2 separate regions of the Homo sapiens genome follow, and region 1 is linked to region 2. Evidence: promoter capture Hi-C in human tissues and cell types (Jung and others, 2019). All regions are on one chromosome and are shown on one strand. Each heading gives the region's core, a stretch centred on a gene start or on the middle of the fragment in contact. The rest is flanking DNA. Distances are from core to core; before and after follow the strand shown.

Region 1 (4,111 bases), core at 724-3,223, 120 kb before region 2:
CAAAGTCATTCCCAACACCACACAGTGCCTTTTCCCCAAAAGGAATCATAATCAAGTAGAAGAAAAGAGAAGTTACTTTATTACAATTTGTTATCTCATCCCGAGGTCAGGGCCCCTTGCTTAGTGGGAAAAAAAACCCTTTAGGACTGAGTCTCGGAACAGCACCTGCTGGACAGAGGGGAGAACCAACCCAGGTCAGAGGGGAAAGCAGCATGGCAAGACCTAGACCCAGTTCTAAGAGCACTTCCTTGTCCCCGCTCTTACCCGGGCCACCACCTTCAAGGCCCATTACCTGTCCTAAACCCAACTTCTCTGTGATGCCCGGATTTCTTGATTTTGATCCAGTAGCTGCTCATTTTCCTGCCTTTTACATTTAGGAGATTCAAGCTCTGTCATTTCCTCTAGCTGCAGAAGAAGATAGAGTTAGACACCCTCGCCCTGAATGATAGGTCAGCATCTTTTTTTTGTTTTGTTTTTTGTGACGGAGCCTCACTCTGTTGCCCAGGCTGGAGTGCAGTGGCGTGATCTCGGTTCACTGCAACCTCCGCCTTCCGGGTTCAAGCGATTCTCCTGCCTCAGCCTTCCAAGTAGCTGGGATTACAGGCGCCCACCACCCCACCTAATTTTTTGTATTTTTAGTAGAGACGAGGTTTCACCATGTTGTCCAAGCTGGTCTCAAACTCCTGACCTCAAGTGATCCGCCTGCCTCAGCCTCCCAAAGTGCTGGGATTACAGGTGTGAGCCTCCGCACCCGGCCGGTCAGCATCTTTTCAACACAGCCAGTCTCTGTGGAATGAACCCTTCCTGTTTGCCTTCCTTACCTGCCCCTGAAGTCCGTCCTTCCTGCAGGGCCCAACTCCACGTAGAGTGAGTGCAGCCACACAGCAGTAACCAGATAGAGCAGCCTCCCCTGCAGACATGAGCAAAGAAGGGATCCAGAGAGCCAAGGCTGTATCCTGAAAAGCAAGAAGGATGGGGAGTAGGAGGGAGTAGGGCAAGTGCAGCAAATAGGGGAAATTAAAAGGGCAGGACCAAGGCTTTGTAGACCACAAGAAGGAAGAGAATGTGCTCACATAGATTCTTGTGGGGTCAAAGGGGCAGTCAGTATGTCCCGGCCCCTCATCCAGTGGTACCAGAGGATCCAGCAGTCCTGGGTGGCAGTCAGCAATAAGGCGGCGGCCACCGTTGGCCACAGTGAGTGACACAGCAAGAAGGAGGCCCAGGGAGCAGGCAACGGACAAGAGCAGGTTCACCAGAGCTAGTGCCAGCAGGACCCAGTGCTGGCAGGGACAGGAGATCAGGGTGAGCAGCCTGGGCCTGGCTAACTCTCCCAGTGACTAGACACCCAGTTTCTCTGAGGCTCCTCCAATCTATTGAAAGACCAAGCTCAGTCAGCCCCCATTTCCCTGACTCAAGCCTACTCGTTAAAAGCTCCAGGGAAGTCCCTCTCACCAGTGGAGGGCGAAGAAGGTTCCTGGACGCCAGGAGGGCCACAAGTCCCACGGAAACGCTCTGTGGAAGACACAAAGCCTTTGGCCTGCTGGGCTCTCCGGGAGCCCGGCCCCCGCCCGGGTCGCCTGCCGCGCTCACCAGCAGCCCCGAGCCGACAGAGATGACATTGGCTACGGTGTACTCCGGCGTGACAGCGCCGCGGGGATTGGCCACGTGCCGCAGGACGGTGCCATGCAGCACGGCCCCCAGCAGCAGGTTCACGTGGCCCACCAAGATCAGCGCGAGGCCCACACGCATCAGCCGCCTGGGCCCCCGGGCGGCGTCTGCAAAGCACGGGGGAGGGCAGGGTTGAGTCGGGCGGGGAGGGGAGAGGCGGCTCGCGGCGGGTTAACCGCGGGCAGTAGGACGGGGCAAGGGTAGCCCCAGGGTAAGGAGACGAGACGCCAGGGCCCGGAAGTTACCGAAAGCGCAGAGACTGCAGCGCCTCATCCCGTCCGCCGCGCCAGCCGCAGGGCCGCTGTACCTGGGCCCGGCCCCGCCCCAACCTGGGCCCCGCCTCCGTCCCGGGTCCCCCTCCCACCTGGGCCCCGCCTCCGCCCCGGGCCCGCTCCCCCTGGCGGGAAAGGCGCGAACACACGACGCTTTTAGCAAAAAGTAGACTTTTATTACAGCAGCAACTGAGGCGAATCGAATGGCCCCCCAGGGCCACCACTGCAGCACCACCTTTCTCTCCCGCCCCGGCCGCCCCAGCGGGATTGTAGAATTCGGCTCCCCTAGTGCCCGTGGGCCTCCTTTCCACACAGGCTGGGCGGGAGCCGGCAGATCAGCGACTAGCCCCCAACTAGAAGGCGGCTGCTGAGAAGGCCCAGGCCCACGTCTGTGCAAAACAAGTAAACAAAGTGCAGAGGGGAGGAAGAGAGGGGAGGGGAAAGGATGATGCTCAGAACCAGGGAGCCCCCCCAGCCCTCCTGAATAATAAAGGAGGGAAGGGGCTTCACAGGGTAATACTGACTGGGGGGAAGGGACAGGAGGGCTGCAGCACGTCCAGGGACAGCCACAGCGCAGATCAGGGCCTGGCCCGAGTGAGCTCTAAGAGGAGACGGTGACAGCGGCTGAGTTGAGGGTACTGTTCCTGGCAAAATTGAACTTGTTCAAGGTCTCTTCTAGCAGAGAAGTCAACCGGCTCTGGTCAGCCTGGGGGAGAAGAGCTCAGTAAGATGGGGGCTGAGAGAAGAGAAGGCATGGGGGCAGCCAGGGCAGATGAAGGCAGAAACCTCACCTCACTAATGAAGCCCAGCTGCACCAGCTCAGCCGCCAACTCGGGGATATTCTCATCTGACAAAGAAACAGGAGGGGGTGAGTACAGTACGGGACTGAGGGACCTGGGGCCCTTCAGACAGCCCCACTAGGGCTAAACTGTCAGTCAGATCCACCCACTGCTTTAGGGTCTAAGATAGTCATTCTATGTGAGTCAATGTGTTACTGCCTTGTCACCTCCCCCACCCCTGAATATGTCCCTAAAAGATAAGGCTCATAGACTCTCCATCCTCTGAGGGAAAGGAGAGACTCACTTGGCATCAGGTCACAGCTCAGGTGCCGGTTCAGTTTGTCCTCCAACTTCAGCAGAAGTGTCAGCTGGAGAATAGGACAGTCAGAAAATGAGACTTTTCTTCCCTACCCTCTGGCTACTAGCCCTGCGCAACCCTAGCCCTGAGCCTTACGTGGTGTTTGACTCCCTCCTCCACCGACTCAATGTTGCACTGCATCAGCACCACCTAGGGAGGGAAGAGAGGGTCACTCTAGAGACCTGTCCATAAAAAACCCAATACCTAGACGTCTTTCGAGCCCATAGGGCATGGCTGCTAGGGAGCATTTTCTCTAAAGGATAGAGCCTTATTTGAGATGTCCTCTCTCCCTTCCACCACAACCATGGAGACAATCCACACCCACACAGCCCCCACCTTGCGAGTCTCCACCTCAGCTGGTTCAGGTGTCGGAGTCTTGACAGAGGGGGGCACGACAGGTGATGTCACCTCCTCCTGCTGTGGCTGCTGGGGCCGAGGCAGCCCAAAGGCTGTCAGAGGATAGATCCCATTCCTGGAGGGAGATGAAGACAGGTCACATGGGCTCTGTGAACGCCTTAGGATACCCAACCCCGCCTGCTTCCTCAAGAAAGCCTGCTTCTCACTCTGCTCTCACCTGACATCTTCAAGGAATTTATCTAATTCCAGAGCTGGTGACTGAGAGTACCTGGACGAGAAAAGAGAAAGGAGATGGAAGGAAAGAAACAAGCAAAATAGCAAATTCAAGCATTCCCAGAGAATGGACAGTTTACAGAGCCTCAAGAGTGGTCGTGACCAATCTGCCCCTTTCAGACCCTCTCAGTTACTCACAAAGTCTGAACTGGTTCTCTTCCTGGTCCTGCAGGGATTTCAGCCAGTACGGCACTAGTATCCATGTTTTTGGTGATCTCCTCTAGAGCGTTCTCTGGGATCATGTCTGGAGGGCATGATGGAGTGGGATATTATGAAGGGATAGTCAGATTAAATGTCAAAGAAGGCATGCAGGCAAAGGGGTAAAGAATCCCTTTGGAGGCCTGGCACAGTGGCTCATGCCTGTAATCCCAGCACTTTGGGAAGCCGAGGCGGACAGATCACTT
Region 2 (3,581 bases), core at 954-3,453:
AGCCTGGCCAATGTATGGTGAAACCCCGTCTCTACCAAAAATGTAAAAAATTAGCCAGGTGTGATGGCACACACCTGCAATCCCAGCTACTCAGGAGGCTGAGGCAGAAGAATCATTTGAACCTGGGATGCAGAGGTTGCAGTGAGCCGAGATCCTGCCACTGCACTCCAGCCTGGGTGACGGAGCGAGACTCCGTCTCAAAAAGAGTTCAGCCCCTATCCTGTACAGATGAGAAAATAGACCTGGAGGAAACCCAAGTCTATCAACAGCAGAGACCACAACCCATGTCAGTGCAAAGAAGCCAAGTGTTGCACTACCCTATTGGGATCCAGCTCACATTGAGCCAGTTTTGTTTTTTGAGCTGTTACGCAAGTGCCTTCTGTCGAAGAGAAGCTTTACTCAATTCTACAGGGCAGCCCCCTTCCTATTTTCAGTGGTAGAAAAGATGAGACCTGGGGATCCACACTTGAGGCTGTAGATTGGTGCTGGCAGCCCTGCTTCTGCAACTGAGTCTCAGCCCTAGTCTTGACCTTGTTCTTTTTCTCTAACAAGCCTTTTCTCTTTCTAACCCTCCCTCCCAATATACCCACTTCATACTATCCATTGTTCATACACTTCTCTACCTTTATTCCTCTTCTCATATTCCTCCCTTCGCCAGAGTGTCTTTTTCCACCATCTTCACCTGAGTTCAATTCATCCTTCAAGGTCCCGGCTCAAATTCCACCTTCACCAAAGAGCTTCCCAGTTTTCTCCAGTAAAAAATAGTTTCCCTCCCTTGTGTTCCCAAGGGGGAAGGGAGGAAAAAGGATAAACAAGCATTAAGCACTTGATCCATTTTAGGCACTTCGCATGTGTCACTTGTATGAGGTAGGTATTGCCATTTTACTTAATGATAAAAGAGTTGGAGAGGGTAAGCTGTCTGTAAAAGGTCAAGGTCATATAACTAGTAAGTGGTGGTGCTGGGGATTTGAACTCAGTCTAACTTCAGAATATAACTTTACAGCCTACCACATTTGGTCTCCTATTACATTTACTTTTGTCAGTTCACTCCTCTAGCATGCTGTTTTGCAAATAGCATTTTAGTTAAATGTTTGTGACATTGACTTCTCTTGCTTCCTTACTCTGTTTCTCCAGGATTTGTGGCAGGAGTCTCCCTGCCTTAATCATAAAGGAATTGAGTAAATTGGGGGTGGAGCTGGGCAGGTGGAGAGCCTGAAAGAGTGTGCCTCCTGACGTGTGGGCTCCCTGGAGATAAGTAAAGCCTGCCAGCCTGACAAGTCCATTGCCAGGGATATTGTAGACATTTCCAACGCTCTAGAAAGGATATTGCTCTATATTCACAGACTCTTAGAATGTTAGAGCTGGAAGGGGATTAAGAAATCACCTAGCTTACTGGTTTTCAAACATGCAGTTGTGGGCCCCGTTAAAAATGGGTCTTTTGAGAAGTATATACTTGGAAAAAAAAGTTGGAGAAGCAGCTGTAGTAATGCTGCCCCTCTCATCCCCACACACAAACATCTGAAAAATCCCTAGAACTGAGGAGCCGAGTTTGGAAAGTCAATAGTGTAACCTCCCTCATTTTACAGATGCAGAGCCTTAACATCAAGTCTAGTCATGACCAAGGCTGCACAGCCCGTTAGTTTGGGAGCCAATACCTAATGTCTTCTGAGGTTCTAATTCCAATGCTTTCTGTGGAAGAATCATACATACGCAGTATTTCTTAAGTGGCTGTTTGCGGCAAAGCACTGAAATAGTTGCTATGAGGACGACAAATATGAACGACCCCAGTTTTACCCACTCATGAGCTCACAGTTGAGGCCAGTGAAGAACCTAGAGACAAAACACGCACTTAACTATAACTTATAGTTCCCTAACTACGATTGCTGAGACAAGGATCGTAGTTATGGCCAGTTATGCGGGGAGGGTGGGCTGAACAATGAGACTACCGGATTGAGAGAGGCCCGGGTCTCGCGCGGAGAGAAGGGGCAGGAGGAGGCAGAGGGTCGAACTTAGGTGAGAAATATGGCTGGCGGGCCCCACACCAGGGTCCGGCACAGTCCAGCTGGAAAAGGGGTCTCTCACAGAGTGGGTGGCCGAGTTAGGCCGCTCTCCACGGGTATTCATGGCTCGGTCCACCCCCATTCCTGTCCTGGCTGCGTAATCCGAAGGACGCTGGGAGGAAGGGGCGGGACTTGTGGCGGAAGTTCCTAGGCCAGCCTGTCACGTGGGAGGGAGGCTCGGCGCTCAGGTGAGTGGCGGGTGATCTGCGGTCTCTGGCTTAAAGCGTCGCAAGCCATGAGTGCCCACAAGGTGTGTGGTCATCCTATATCCGGGCAGTGACGGGCCCTATTTTCGGTTTGGAGCTGGACTCAGGAAGGTTACAAACTGGTTCCAACCAAGTCTGAATCTGGAGACGGACCAAGCTATCTTTTGAGGCACCCAAGCTCTGGGTAGAAGCCAGAGCAAAGCTGTCCTCATGAGTGTCTCCGTCGGGAACGGAGGCTTCCAGGTGGTCTGGCTTCAGGAATGAGGTTGGGGTGGCTGGTGGCTGCTACCAGGAGTCCATAGCTTCCCACAGCCTTTCTCTCTTCCCCAATTGTCTAAGGCGACTCCTGCGACAGGAAGCTGTCTGGGAAGCATCCTTCATGTGGCCTCTGCCCCTTTAAGTCACATTGGAAGTGGGAAGGGGAAGGGAGTGGGCACAAGGGAATGTCAGGCGGCTTCTTAGTCGTGGAGAGGGACGGTGGGGGTGACCCCCTCTCCTCTTGGCTTGACAGGAAGCATGGCACTCTGGCGGGCATACCAGCGGGCCCTGGCCGCTCACCCGTGGAAAGTACAGGTCCTGACAGCTGGTGAGTGTCCCTCTAGGACTTGAGTGGGACCAGGGCAGACTGATTTGGAAGCCAGAGGCTTGCCCCACTGCACCACCCTCACTTCCTGTTTCTATTCGGCTCTCTTGAAGGGTTGGCTGTCTTTCATCCTACACTGTCCCCAGTCTGTTTTGGAGGGTGGTCCCCAAGGCTGTTTTTAAGGGGTATGCGTAGTTGGCCAAGCTGTGCAGTAGGGTTTTAGGATTTCAAAGTCCTCAAAAAGCTGAACAGTCAGCCCTGAAGGATAAAGGCATTGCCCCAGGAGGCCTCAACTTGGAAAACATTTTACCGTATGCAAAGCACTTTCATATACGTTATGGCATAGGGCCCCCACAAAGGTGTGTGAGCTAGGAGGGTTACTTGAGTCCACATTAGATCACACCTAATAAGTGCTGAATCAAGACTCTTACCCCAGTTTTTCTTGGTATTTTTTATTGTGAAACATACAAAAGAATGATTAAGATGTGTATGTACAGTTTAAATGGCATTAAAACTGAACACTCCTGTGTCAGTAATCAGCTTTGAGACCTCTTGAGTGCCTCTCCGTAATTCACCCAAAATTTCCTGAGTTTTGTTTATATCGTTCATTTGCTTTTGTTATCATTTACTGCCTAAATATGTATCTCCAAGGTTAGTATATTGGTATCTGATCACTCCATCCTGATCCATTTGGAGTGATCAGATACCAGTCACTCCAAATGCAGTGATTGA

The links. Contacts are between HindIII fragments. The study calls those that stand out against the background at their distance.
Region 1: the fragment with the promoter of KRTCAP3 here is called in contact with the fragment with the promoter of MPV17 in region 2 in 1 of the 25 tissues and cell types used here (small bowel).

The regions. Positions count from the first base shown.
Region 1 is chr2:27,440,243-27,444,353 of GRCh38, reverse strand. It overlaps KRTCAP3 (keratinocyte associated protein 3), which reads right to left and starts at 1,973. Exons shown (of 7, transcript NM_173853.4): 1 at 1,914-1,973; 2 at 1,591-1,775; 3 at 1,453-1,512; 4 at 1,074-1,280; 5 at 822-956; 6 at 293-405; 7 at 57-168. The coding sequence starts at 1,941. The coding sequence ends at 298. NRBP1 (nuclear receptor binding protein 1) reads right to left here. Exons shown (of 18, transcript NM_013392.4): 12 at 3,846-3,951; 13 at 3,652-3,702; 14 at 3,414-3,549; 15 at 3,174-3,227; 16 at 3,024-3,087; 17 at 2,732-2,787; 18 at 2,095-2,646. The coding sequence ends at 2,542. RefSeq lists an enhancer at 1,296-1,838. The HindIII fragment of the contact is 11,668 bases long and covers 1-4,111 here.
Region 2 is chr2:27,321,719-27,325,299 of GRCh38, reverse strand. MPV17 (mitochondrial inner membrane protein MPV17) reads left to right here and starts at 2,203. Exons shown (of 8, transcript NM_002437.5): 1 at 2,203-2,248; 2 at 2,778-2,852. The coding sequence starts at 2,783. RefSeq lists enhancers at 1,394-2,366, 2,489-2,548, 2,599-2,648, 2,659-2,748, 2,759-2,808. The HindIII fragment of the contact is 20,851 bases long and covers 1-2,508 here.